Linked DNA regions of Homo sapiens: region 2 is linked to region 1. The links are contacts of gene promoters, found by promoter capture Hi-C in blood cells and fetal thymus (Javierre and others, 2016). All regions are on one chromosome and are shown on one strand. The core of a region is centred on a gene start or on the middle of the fragment in contact, and the rest is flanking DNA. Distances in the headings are between cores, read along the strand shown.

Region 1 (7,083 bases), core at 2,092-4,591:
AAGAGCTCTTTGCATCACACAAACAGTCATTATCTTGCAGATCAGAAAGTTGAGGATGTCTTCATAATGAGAATCAGATCTCATAAAAATTGAGTAAGATTTGGATAGAAGAATAAATCAAAGAGGGCATTTCATGTGAAGAGTAGATTCTGAGTAAATATTCTGAGGTCAAGGTTAAACTCTAACACATCAAGGAATAGATAAGTTATAGGCGTGTCTCTGGAGATGGATTCTTAAAGGTGAATGGTAGAAAATAGCCTTAAGTGATATAAGCCCTCTGTATGGAGCCCTTGGAGTACCAAGATAAAGGACAAAACTTGGTTTGAAGACTAATGAGAAGCCAAAAATATTTCTAATGCATAAGAGCATATCTACACACTAGAGAAAAGATGGGGATAGGAGACCAATTAACAAGTAAGTTATCTTATGATGATGGCATTGATTATGGTAATAGTTTTGTGGGTGTATACTTATGTCCCAATTTATCAAGTTGTATACATTATATGTGTATAGCTTTTTGCACATAAATCATACCTCAATTAAGTTTTTTAAAGTTACCTTATGACAAATAAGTGAAACTGAAGAACATAATGTCAGACTTACTTCAGAGGATGAATGTACAAGATTTGACCAGATTAATTTGGGGAGCAAAAGAAAGGAATACAACCCTGGGTGATCCTGCCACATTTTTGCCTCTTGTCCACAAATACAAATCTCTCTTCAAATCTCTGTTTAACTTCCACCTCAACTGATCAATGTAAATCTTTTTCTCTCCATCATAGTTTTCAGGTAATCAAGGGGTGTGTGTGTGTGTGTGTGTGTGTGTGTGTGTGTGTGTCTGTGTGTAAGAGAAAGAGAGAGTTTCCAAGTATGTGAAAAATCAAGATGAACCTTAAGCTGTTTTTAGTGATAGCAATTTTGATTTAACTTCCGAATCTCAAAATGCATCCATCTTTATATGCTGTTTGATTTACTGGTGCTGGGGGAACCATGCTCATCAGATTAGAGTCTCTGCAGAAACACTCTGATGCCAATGCCGAGGAAGTCCCTTTAGAATAGAAAACTTTAACTTTGCCTGAGACTTGCATAACTATTGTCACTAACCTATTGGTAGGGAGTGTCCTAGATTTTTATAATTTATTCCCTAATGATTTAAAAACCAATGTTTTTATTCTTAATTTCCCTACAAAGAAAAAACATCAGGAGACCAGTCAGCTACTATAAAATGTTTCTCAGTGAACTCAAAATATGAGGACTTAATTTTATTTACTAATTTATTTATATTATAGTATCAAAATGCAGAATATAAATTTTCTAATATACTTCAGTATTTTTATTGTTTTTAAATTTTAGCCACTTAATAATTCTCTTTGTCTCTAAAGTGAAGCCATTATAGAAAGCCATAAGGAGACATAGTAAGTGGATAAGTCTGACCTATTCTTTGTTCAAAAGTACCATAATTTTATCAGCAAATACACAGATAAGGCTGATGATGTCCTTGTACAGTAATTCTGCGATCTATAGGCAAATTAATTTTTGATTAAGTTCAAAAATTATATTTTACATTGGTGAAGAGAAAATGAGATTTTACTCATTATATTCTGAAATATGATCTATATAAAATAATTATTGATAATAAAATCCATTTTTCCACAGTCCACCTGATAAATATTTTCAGTTGATTTTCCATTAGATGTTACTAAAATAATGATAAAGAGCAGCATTTTATACTTTTACAAAGTTTTTTTAAAAATATAATTCTGAAAGATTTTTTAAAAGAGGTATAGACCTAAAATATAAAGGACATTTTATTGTATTCATTTGATTACAAGCCTCTAGTGATAAAACTCCAGAAAACCTCATCATATTATGTGAGTCAATAGAAAAACAAAAGTAAGAAACAGAGAAAACCTAACCAAAATGTTTTCAAAGTAATTCACTGGCCGGGCGAGGTGACTCATGCCTGTAATCCCAGCATTTTGGGAGGCCGAGGCGGGCGGATCGCCTGAGGTCAGGAGTTCGAGACCAGCCTGACCAACATGGTGAAACCCCGTCTCTACTAAAAATACAAAATTAGCCAGGCATGGTGGCTCATGCCTGTAATCCCAGCTACTCGGGAGGCTGAGGCAGGAGAAGTGCTTGAAACTCTGTCTCAAAAAAAAAAAAAATGTGCTTTGAATTAACTATCGTAGGCTCTTCTCCAAAATTGTCTGTTTGGAGTATGCTAAGGCTAAAGACTTTTAGAAACTTCTAAAAGAAAAGAAAGTTAATTTTATTATTCTTTAAAACTCAAATTGTTTCTGTACCTGAAATATTTTAATGTACAGTTGCCAAACTATAAGAACTATATAATAAATTTAGTTGATCATTAAACTCAAATAAATATATAGCCAGTAAAGAGTAGATAATGAGTTTGTAAATTTAAATAAATTTAAAACTCAAGTAAATAAATGGAGAACCTCCATAGAACTCACTGAAAATGAAGACATTACTTTCTATGAGAGATGTTTGAGTGAATACAAAATAGATATTTACCATGAAGAATATTCACATTATGAGTGGAGATTTTGCCACCAAATCTTACAATGTTGGACATGCATGTAAAACTCTTAAAACTAGAGACAGAAAGTATTAGGATAAGTGAGCAATTAAGAGTAATAACTCCTTGGGAAATTTGTCATACCAAGATTGGAATAGTATCTAGAATATGTTGAAATGAACATAAAAATGATATCCAATACAATGATTAAGAACACTCATAGATGTTTCATATTCTTATCCTCTCTAAAAGGATGAGTAGATATCTCATAAAATATGCAATTGGTGACCTTATCTGGAAAGGGTTACTAAGCTAGCAAAAGCATTCTTCAAATCACTGTGTTTCTGTGCAGTTTTTAAAATGTAGACATTTAAAATGCCTTAAGAGTAATTCATTTTAAGCGTCACATTGATCCAATAGGATACGATTTAAAACTTGTTTACTTTTTCCTGGAGGAAAAGATACCATAAGAAAATGTCTTAATTTTGGAAATGGAAAATTATATGTACTGACCACAGATTTTACATCGGCATAGGATAATTCATGCAGATAAAGCTTTCCTGCCCTAGGAATTCACACAGATATTTTCAGACAAGCCCTGGGTACACAATCCATGATACATTTTTTCTCACTTGATTTGACCCACAGTGAGTGTGCTAGTGTTTAGGAGATGGCACAGGATAATTTGAAGAAGACTTTCTTCCCTTTTGTATACAGGGAAATTAGAGGGTGAGAATTAGAAACATTCTGCTTTGGAATCTTACATTTCTTTACAATTTATGTCTCAGAAGAGAAGCCAGGAATGGCTAGGGAAAATCACTCCTTAGCAGCTGAATTCATCCTCATAGGATTTACAAATTATCCAGAGCTGAAGACGCTTCTGTTTGTGGTGTTCTCTGCCATCTATCTGGTCACCATGGTGGGGAATCTTGGTCTGGTGGCATTAATTTATGTAGAGCGTCGTCTTCTCACACCAATGTACATCTTTCTGGGCAACCTGGCTCTGATGGATTCCTGCTGTTCCTGTGCTGTTACCCCCAAGATGTTAGAGAATTTCTTTTCTGAGGATAGAATTATTTCCCTGTATGAATGTATGGCACAATTTTATTTTCTCTGTCTTGCTGAAACCACAGACTGCTTTCTTCTGGCGACAATGGCCTATGACCGCTATGTGGCCATATGCCACCCACTGCAGTACCACACCATGATGTCCAAGACGCTCTGCATTCGGATGACCACAGGGGCCTTCAAAGCTGGAAACCTGCATTCCATGATTCATGTAGGGCTTTTATTAAGGTTAACTTTCTGCAGGTCTAATAAAATTCACCACTTTTTCTGTGATATTCTTCCACTGTATAGACTCTCCTGTACAGATCCTTCTATTAATGAACTAATGATATATATCTTTTCAATACCAATTCAAATCTTTACCATTGCTACTGTCTTGATCTCTTATCTCTGCATCCTTTTGACTGTTTTCAAAATGAAATCCAAGGAGGGAAGAGGTAAAGCATTTTCTACCTGTGCATCCCACTTTCTCTCTGTCTCAATATTTTACATTTGTCTTCTCATGTATATTGGACCATCTGAAGAAGGAGATAAAGATACACCAGTGGCAATATTTTATGCAATAGTAATCCCATTACTAAACCCTTTTATTTATAGTCTGAGAAATAAGGAGGTCATAAATGTTCTTAAAAAAATTATGAGGAATTATAACATTCTTAAACAAACTTGCTCTATAGCAAATTTATTTTTAATTTATTAAAATGCTTTCATAAAGAGGGAACATAGAAAAATTAATATGTGATTTTACACAAAATGTAAGCTTATAAATCATTAGGCTATGTTTGTTTAAAAAATATATCAATGGAATTTCAAAATTGTTTCACAAATCTTTATCCAAATCCCACAACCAGAATGAATCGGGGAAACTCACTGGTAACTGTTATTACTACCTTTCATGACTCTCATGGAATTGTCAGAGAGTATTATCCTAAACCTCAATTAATCAACATAGCATGAAAGTTAAATGTTTAAATGTGTAGAAGAGTCTTCTTTGATTAATGTTTCCTAGTTAATGGAAGACATTATATCCAATCCTATGTAGCGTGTTTGAAACATTTAAAATTTCCTGGCAGAAAAGTGAAATGATAGTTTTCTTTCAGAAAACTGACCTGAGAGACACATGTGGATTACTTTAGAGTGGAAAAGACTAGAAGCAAACTAATTGCAGTAATTTATATTTAAGGTAATGAAGTTTTATTTAGATAAGATTGCAAGAATGAAAAAAAATGAAAAGGAACACACACACACATACACAGACATATACAGACACAGACACACACATACACACATGCAAAGAGGCTCACCTACAAAATATTCTATTTTGCAGAATAATTAATTGTGACTTATAACAAATTGGACAGAGTAGATTAAGGTCTACTTTAGCCAGAAGCATAATTAAGTTCCTTTTCATTCTTGAAGGCATCAACCATGTTATTGGCTATGTATTATATATAACTACAGTTTACATATTAACACTCATTAAACATTTTAAAACATATTAATAATGACATTGTTTTATTTTTGAGTAATGGTAAGCTGTACCAATATTTTATGTGTTTATTGACCATTTTTACTTTTATGAATTGTCATTTTTGTTTTGTCTGTTTTATTTCTTATTTATATCATTGTTTACAGAGAAAAGACATCACAACTATTTGTGGCAAATAATTCTTCTGTGGGTTGATAGTCTTAGTATTTGTTTCTGATATTTATAAATATTTTAATTTAATATACTCATATTTACTTATTTTTTCTATGATCTCTTTCATGCATTTCATCCAGAATTTCTTTTTTAATCCAGTCTACTATTAACCAATATTTCTTTTTCTCCTTTTCTTATTTCTCTTCTTCTCCTTCTCCCTATTTTCCTCCTCCTTCCTTTTTTGATATTTTAAATTTTTGCAACTTGACTCTTGATTCTTCCTGGAATTTATTTAGTATATGGCATATTAAAGATATAACTTTATTTGGCTGTTTCTCTAAAAAATATTTATAAACTAATTTAATTCAAATAAACACTCAGGAGAACTTCTTTGGGAACCTGGCAAAATGAATTTAAAATTTTTTCATATTCTAGATTTTTCTAGAAAATAAAAAAAATACCTTATGTGTTATATATTAAAATATATGATAAAATTCCAATAATGATAACAGTTTGGTTTTAAATCAAGAATCAATAAACAAACCAACAGAACAAATCAGATTGTTCAAAAGTAAACTCTCATATAAAATAAGAAGGGCATCACAAATAACAAGGAAATAAAGGATTGTTCAGTAGCCGTGGGACAACTGGGTAACTATCTCTTCCATTCATGTTAAAATGTATATCTTCCTGTCATTTAGATATATATTTGTAGACAAAATTTGTATTTCCTTCATTTTTCATAGTTTGATTTTTAATATACAGCAACCAACTGGAATTTATTTTATAATGTTATAAAGTGAGAATTAAAATTTGATTTATGGCTAACCAGTAGTCCCAGAAGCATTTATTGACAAACTCTTCTCTAACTGATTTCTTATGTCTCCTTTTTGTACATTTATGCTCATACATTCACATGTACATGCATACACAGAGAGGTCTATTTCTAGCCCGTTTGTACAACAAAAACAAGACGGTTCTAGTTCGTACACTTCTGTCTCAGGAGGGAAGATGGACATTTTAAAAGGCAATCAAACTAAAAAGCTATAAGTTATAATTGAGGAAGACTCTTATGCTTCTACCTAAAGTCTATTGTTAGGGTTCTATAACATTTATATATAAAATATCTATTCACTCTATTCTTTCTTTCTATGTGACCTCATCTATTTTTTTTTTTTTGGCCTTTAATTTCATCAATATGAAGATGGCTCAGAATGTATATTTCCACCTCTGATATCCTCCCTGCTCTCCAGTCTCACATGTGCAACTGCCTACTTCACATAATTACTTAAATGTTGCAAAGACATCTCAAATTCAACATGATCAAAGCACAAGTCTTGAATTTCCCACTAAACATGGTCCTCCCCTGGTCTTCTCCATTATGATGGTCACATCCTCCAACCAGCTGGGCAAGGCAGAAATTAAGAGAACCCCACACAACTCTGTCTCCTATCACAACCAAACTTTCATGATATCTGTCAACTTAGTCTCTGAAGTCTATCTTAAATGTGCCAAATCTCTCCACTTACACCACATGTACATAATTTCATCTCTCACCTGAACAATATCATTAGCTTCAAACTCGTCTCTGTGCTTTTGCTCCTTTTTATTTTTTAATGTATATTTACAATACGATTTAAAAATAGTACTAAAAGGTGAATTCCAAAAACTACAGTCTCTTGCCTACCATGACTTAGGTATTTCATCCACAACAACCTTCTAATTTTTTAAACGATTTCTCTGAAAATTTATCCTTATATTTCTCAGTATCAGTTTTAATCATATTAATCAATTTCCCATTACAGTAAATGAATATTAAGTTATTTATTAAACA
Region 2 (7,083 bases), core at 3,406-5,905, 320 kb before region 1:
TGTGTCGGTGAGCTTGAGCAGGTTGCTGGACCTCCCTGATTTGTTTTCTGCCCTGTGACACCTACTTCTCAGTGATACTGTGGGTGTGGAGGGGAAATGTCTGTTTTAGCATAGCTCCTTTGTGAGCAACTTGCAGCAGCCTTCAGCCGGAGACCTTGCTCAGCACCTCCTTCCAGAAAAAGGTGGCTGTCATCATCATCATCATCATCATCATCATCATCATCATCATCATCATCGTGGGCAGCAGGAGCAATAACGCAAGACCCTGAGGGCTCTACTAAGTGGATCCTAGTCATTCTGAATAGCTAATATGCTTTTGTATTAATACAAAATATTAATTCACATCGGAAACCAATGTGAATTTTAATATAAGACATGTAGGTGAACTTTCTTACACAATAAAGTGACTTCGATGGGGAGAATTTCAGAATCTGGAGCAGCTGCTAAAAGGAATACATCTTATGGGCACCTGAGATCACCCAGTGTGGTCTTTCAATAGGGAAGTTTCTGGCTGAAACCATCAGAGGTTTACAGATGTGTAGTTTATCATTGATAGAAATGCAGAAGTTGGGAAAAGAAATCTGTTTTTGGTAGAAGGCAATGAGTTTTATTTTAAACATGTTAAGCCATTATATCCTATGAATAATTGAACACATACAACTAGTTTTTCCAAGGAGCTAGAATTAACTAGAAAAGTTTTTTCAAGGAGCTAGAATGAACTATTTATTAAAAAAAAATAGCAGCTAGCTTTTATTAAATGTCTACTATGTTCAAGTCACCAAGCCAAAGTAAACATTATTTTCATTGGCATACATCCAAATTATGCTCTGTTTGGGCCCTATGCCTAGAGCTTCTGTTTCAATAGGTTTGGGGTATGACAATTTGCATGTATAACAATTTCTCAAGAGATCCACCGGCCTAGAAAATAGTAGACATTTAATAAATCTAACTACTTGTTACTATTTTAAGAAAAATGGAAATGTAACTATGAGTGAAAACTCATGAAAATTTGTAAACCTCTTTGGTAATAATCTTTTAATACAGCTAAATGGCATGTCACTAATGTGTGTGCTCAGAAGCATACCTCTCCATGAGATTGAAAAGGATAAATCTTAATTAAGAATCCCAAGAATGCTTAAGACAGAGCCCACTGTGAAATGCTCTCTTGGCAGCGTGCGAAAGCACCTGCACCTGTTCTAACTTGAGGGCTCTTCAGGTGCACAATGAGATGTTCCATATTTATCTACTTTTGCCTTTTTTTGTATTTTTTATACCTTCTATTTCCCAAAAAGGATCTGTTGCTTAAATACGCTTTTAAAGAATTTTGAAAATCTATATATTCCCCTCACATATATTTAAATAGACATTTACATTTCTTCATCATAAATTTTGAAATTACTCAAATATTGATGATTTCAGATAAAACATATTGTTCCTTTAAGTGTATCCAGTGAATCTAAATATACACATTATGCATTTAAAGATACCTGAACAAGCTTTTTAAAAATCAGAAATTTTATATCATTCTTTTTTTAAAAAAAACTACTATCTCCATTTTATTTACTTCATATAATTTTATCACTCCATCATGTACCTTTGTAAGAAAAATGTGTAAGCATAGAAATTAACTTTTTTATTTTCTATAATAATTATGAATGGAATAAAACAATTTGTTTAAATATTGATACTTATTAAAATTAAGAATAAAATTTTATTAAAATTGTATTTATTAATGAACTGATGATTCACTTTCTCCAATTATTCTATGTATCGGCAAATGGGTATTACTCATTGCTGGAATAAAACTCGGTTTTTGCATTAATTCTGTTCTTATTTTTTAATCTTTATAGATGGAAATATTGAGAAAGTTTGTTCATATATGTGGAAGTACATGGAATTTGAAGAAATTTTGTTTCAGTATTCTTTTAACAAAGCAACTTAATTACTTAAACTCCTTACTTACTTTTCAAAACTCACACTGTAGAATTTATCTTCAACAATCAGTTTAATTATTTATAACCTGACAAATTAATTAGGTTCTTCCTTCAATTTTGTTAAAAGCAAAAAATAGAGAATTGCCATTAAGAAAAGTACAGCATCATCCGCTATCTCAACAACAATATTTGTAATGATCTCTTTGTACCCAGGAACTTTTTACACGCTGGGGCAATACTCGTAGGATTCAGGAAGAGGGAGAGGGATGCCTGTATATTGCCAGGTGGGACAGAGCAATCATTAAAAGGAGGTAATAAAGGACACTGCAGGTGGTGAGTAGATCAGTTTTAAGAAAGAGGTCAGAGGGAAGTTAAAGATCCAAAAACTGTTTTAAAACTATTCATGTCTACATGCCCCTCAGATACCTTGCATCTACCCTTAGAGGTATAATACATTGTACCCCAGGAGGATAGACACCCTCGTTTGAAGGCCTCTGATGCATACATAGGAAGGTAAATAAAATGAAGGATGAAATAAAACCAAGGAGACAGAAGGAAATTTGCTTAATAAAGGATCACTATATCATGGAGCATCAGATTTATCTCAGAGTGTTCTAGTCTTATTCTATACACATACCACTTTAAATCCCTTTGTGTCTTCTCCCCTCTCCCCCATTCTAGAAAAAAAAAATGATTTCAGTTTAGCCGCTACTGAGAAGAAGCTTTTGGATTTCTTCTGTCTGAGGAGAGGATCTTCTAGGAGTCTGAGTCCTGATGGGATCAGGCAAAGAAATCTCAATTCGTGGGAGAGCCTCTCACTGGCATTCCTAATTTTTGTCCTTTCCCACAAAGTATTATGAAGATTGAGAAACAGTAGGCGTGAGTCTTGGTAATAGGTGTGGTTTTTCTCTTTGAATTGGGGCCTCTTCCTTCCTGGGTCACACAAAGAAAACATATTTCTATGCTCCCTCTTCTCAGTGTCAGAAACTCTACTGTAATTGTGTGACAAAGAAAGCAGAGGTCTGGGAGGAGGGAAAGGCTTGATTCTGAGTGGTCTCAGGGGGACTAAGAGGGTCTTTGAGGAGGACATAGTAGTCAAAGGATTAAAAACTAGAACTGATTGAGGAAAAGGAAATGCACCTAACTCATTCTGCGGCATTGGAGTTTTATAAGTGGAATGATAAAAAATCATCTGACTTGAGTCACACACACTCGGTTGGCTGCCTTATAAAACTGCTTTCCCTGGAGCCTGGAGGCCTACATATTTGATGAGTTAACTAGAATCAGAATTTGAAAAGAACTAGGTCTGACACGAAGAGACTAGTTACCCAAGGGAGGACATAATTAATAAGCAAATTTAAAAGTATTTAATTGAGGGGGTCAAGAGTGTGATACCAATTGAAGCCATAACTGTCATTTTATATCTATTAAATTAGCAAAAGACAAAAAATAATGTTAGTGCCCCATGCTGTGAAGGATATGATGAGGCCAGGTGCGATGGCTCACACCTGTAATCCCAGCACTTTGGGAGGCGAAGGCGGGCGGATCACTTGAGGTCAGGAGTTCGAGACCAGACTGGCCAACATGGTAAACCCCATCTCTACTAAAAATACAAAAATTAGCCAGGTGTGGTGGTGGGAGCCTGTAATTTCATCTACTCAGGAGGCCGAGGCAGGAGAATCACTTGAACCTGGGAGGCAGAGGTGGCAGTGAGCCGAGATCGTGTCACTGCACTCCAGCCTGGGTGACAGAGTGAGACTGTCTTGGAAAAAAAAAAAAAAAGGATATGATTAAATCCTTTTCATTTTGCAGGTGGGAGTATAAATATTGGTAAACTCCCCTAGAAATTCATCTCAAGAACTATAAAAATATTTCATGTGCTTTACTCAATTATACAATTCCAGAAAAATCATAATTTTCTCGGTAAAGAAAAAAATAAAATGTGTGAAAACATTTATTGCTGTTACTTATAATAGTGCAAACTTGAAAATAAATGTTCAGAAACAAAGGAGATAATTCTTGTCCTTTAATTCAAATTAATAATATGGAGTGATTAAAATACCATTATGGTGTCTATGAAGCAATGTGAGAAATGCTTAAGTGAAGAAAATACAAAATGGTTTCTATGCTATGATTTTAAACATGGAAAAATCATGTAGTTTCATGAATCAGGATTAGACGTGAGCTTGGAAAAACAAAAGCATAACTGGATTCTAGGTATCTTTTTCCACATAAAAATCCATTATTGCTATTGTTATTTGTATCATAAATTATCTAGAAAAAATTGAACTTGCCATTTATAATCCTTTCCAAATAAGAATCTGGTCAAAACTCTCCACCTTATCACTCCATTCTCCTTGTCATTCTAGAAGCATGGCCTCTTGATAACATGGACGTTTTTCTCAGTCAAGCTTTACTGTGAACCAGTGCACACTGAAACTCAGCTAACTGTTCCAAATAATGTAGGCAAAATTTTAAAAACTTTTTGTAGGCTTATTATTTTTCTTTAGAAAAATACAAAATGAAGCAAAAATGTTCTATTAGGCTATATACATGGATGCAAATCCAAGGAATAAGGTAAAGTAGTGGGAAAATCAATTGGTCCAATTTTTCATCACGAAGAAAACCTTCATAATTCTTGATCCAATCTTTATTTCCAGGCTCTGGATGTTTTTGAAAAGTCTTAGAGAAAACGTGGTACATCAGATGTAGTGAATCTTATGGCTCTGATTGAACTCCTAACTTCTGAACTCTGGAAATACATACCTGACTTTTTCAATAGCCTGTCTCTTGTAAAGGAAAAAATCTAGGCAGATGAACATTTCTGTGGAAAAGCCAGCCAGAGAGAATGCTTCACTTGAAACACGACAGTTCCCACATCTCACTTGGGTCTCTGTCAGATCACAAGCTCAGTGAGGAGGCCTCAGTTTCCTCATCTGTGAAATGAGGAAATTAGACCAGATTAGCAGCTAGTCTGCAGACATTTTTAAAAAATGGTTCACGTGGTACATTAACTTGGAAAAATTCAGAGAAAAGCTTGGATTTCTTGCTTCTTTTGAAAAAAATCAGAAAATCTGGCCACACGAGGCTCAAGTTCTCTTATAACAAGAGAAGGCTGTGGGCACGGTGGCTCATGCCTATAATCCCAGCACTTTGGGAGGCCAAGGCTGGAGGATCATTTGAGGCCAGGAGTTTGAGTCCAGCCTGGGCAACATAGACAGACCCAATCTCTACCAAAAAAATATAAAAGCCAGGTGTAGTGGCACACGCCTGTTGTCCCAGCTACTTGGGAGGTTGAGGTGGGAGGACCACTTGAGCACAGGTGTTTGAGGTTATAGTGAACTATGATTGGACCACCGCACTCCAGCCTGGGCAAGAGAACAAGACCTTGTTTCAGAAAAAAAAAAGTTAAAAATTAAAAAACAAACAAAAACAAGAGAAGGCTGAACCTGACCAGCCAGTTTCCCTCAGAGGAGCATATACCTTGTAGTTGTAGTCTCTGCCACTCTCTTCTGTCTTGCTTGCAGTAGCATTGGATTTGCCATGCCTGAGAACCTACTGGCTTTTACATTAGGTTCAGGGTAATGTTTAACAAGTGACTCTTTAGGAAAAAAAGCCCCAGTTTATAGTAGTGTTTTATTTCCATGGTGTAAATACTTCCACCATGGCTGATTTCAGGCTACCAACAACATGCATGGCAGAGATGTGTCTAGCACATAGTATAGTATAGTATAGTATAGTATAGTATAGTATAGTATAGTATAGTATAGTATAGTAATGGTATACTGTAGTATTTCTACAATACAGTTACAATAGACCTAAATAACCTCAAGAGCAACAGATGATAAAGTGTGGAGAAATCATTGGGAAGTGGTGAGTTTTAAGTATTTGCTACCTTTATTTTAGAAAGTATTTAATTTAATTGCAGGCTTATATAATTTATTTTTTAATAATGTGTGCTTTTAACAGCCAGCTGATAAATTTCCTGAAAATGATTGGCTGTTGCAAGCCAGACTGAGCAGACTCCAGCACTCTGCTGATTATTTTCAAGGCCAGAGTCAATACGTTGCTCTTATAGCATTTTTAGCCCCAACCCAGCACTTGCATGTAAATATCACTCAGTGTAATTGTTGAAAGAATGAATAAATATTCAGTGAGTCTATTTGCTTAATCCTCTTTGCATCATCCAGGAGTAAAATTTCTTCTCTAGGTAAAAGGGGAACATTTTCCACCTGCCATAACTTACTTTATTCACACCTCTCCCTACTTTGTTTTTAGGAAACAAAAGATATGTTTGAATACATATTTTTTTAAAGTCTTTAGGTTTTGAAAGAAGGGAATCTCTGGATTAAAAAGTGAGGTTATATTCTGAATGAAAACAACTAAAAGCAAAACATTTAAGAGCCTTATTGTATAAAAACTGGCCCCAAACAATGCATATATAAATCCCCCTTATAATTTTCAAAGATCATGTCTTCCTTTCATGTTCACTCTATTAGTTCTTTTGCATTATAGAAGAGTGGATTATTCATTAATTCATTCATTACTTAATTATTGGCTGATAATCAGGTCGGGTGCTGGGCAAAGAACCTCACAGTATCTATTCACATACTAAGGTAGGAAGACTCCTGGGCCTCTTACTCTAAAAATGACTCTATACAGTAATTACTGTATTTTGGTCAAATGCCCTAAAATCTGCATGACAGAGTGCTTGAATGACAGCTCAGAAATTGGCTGGCTGTGTTACTCTGTTCACTCAGGGAAAATGCCTGGGTTTCATTCTAAGTGGCTACTTCTGGACCAGTGTGATGGTTTATGCAATCTCCAGTGCCCTGGAGGGTGTTTCTTTGAAGAACAAAAGAAGCAGATATAAATTTTAATGAATCCCATTCTGGCTTGTGACTCAAAGGAGCACTTCATTTAGGAATATAGAAGTGACAACAAATATGATTGGCCCCACATGGCCGAAATCCTGGCGTTTCCTACGGGGGAAGTCTGCTTTTGCATAGGCTCTAAAATTCTTCTTTTCCTTTACATAGGATCTAAAAATGAGGCATTTAACATCAGAAAAAATTTCTACCTCACCACAAAGAACCAATGTTCTTTTCTTTTTCTTTAAATGTCACCTAAAAAATATACATGGTAGATT

Evidence for each region. The method cuts DNA at HindIII sites, captures the fragments that hold promoters and counts their contacts. A CHiCAGO score of 5 or more calls a contact.
Region 2: a contact is called between a fragment that was not itself captured here and the fragment with the promoter of OR5K4 in region 1, in 2 of 17 cell types (M1 macrophages and endothelial precursors). The highest score is 5.1, in M1 macrophages.

The regions. Positions count from the first base shown.
Region 1 is chr3:98,350,513-98,357,595 of GRCh38, forward strand. It overlaps OR5K4 (olfactory receptor family 5 subfamily K member 4), which reads left to right and starts at 3,342. Exons shown (of 1, transcript NM_001005517.1): 1 at 3,342-4,307. The coding sequence starts at 3,342. The coding sequence ends at 4,307. The HindIII fragment of the contact is 1,273 bases long and covers 3,093-4,365 here.
Region 2 is chr3:98,026,414-98,033,496 of GRCh38, forward strand. All of the region lies in intron 2 of GABRR3 (gamma-aminobutyric acid type A receptor subunit rho3), which reads right to left. Among named protein-coding and RNA genes, the nearest start is that of GABRR3, 5.4 kb to the right of the region's middle. The HindIII fragment of the contact is 625 bases long and covers 4,344-4,968 here.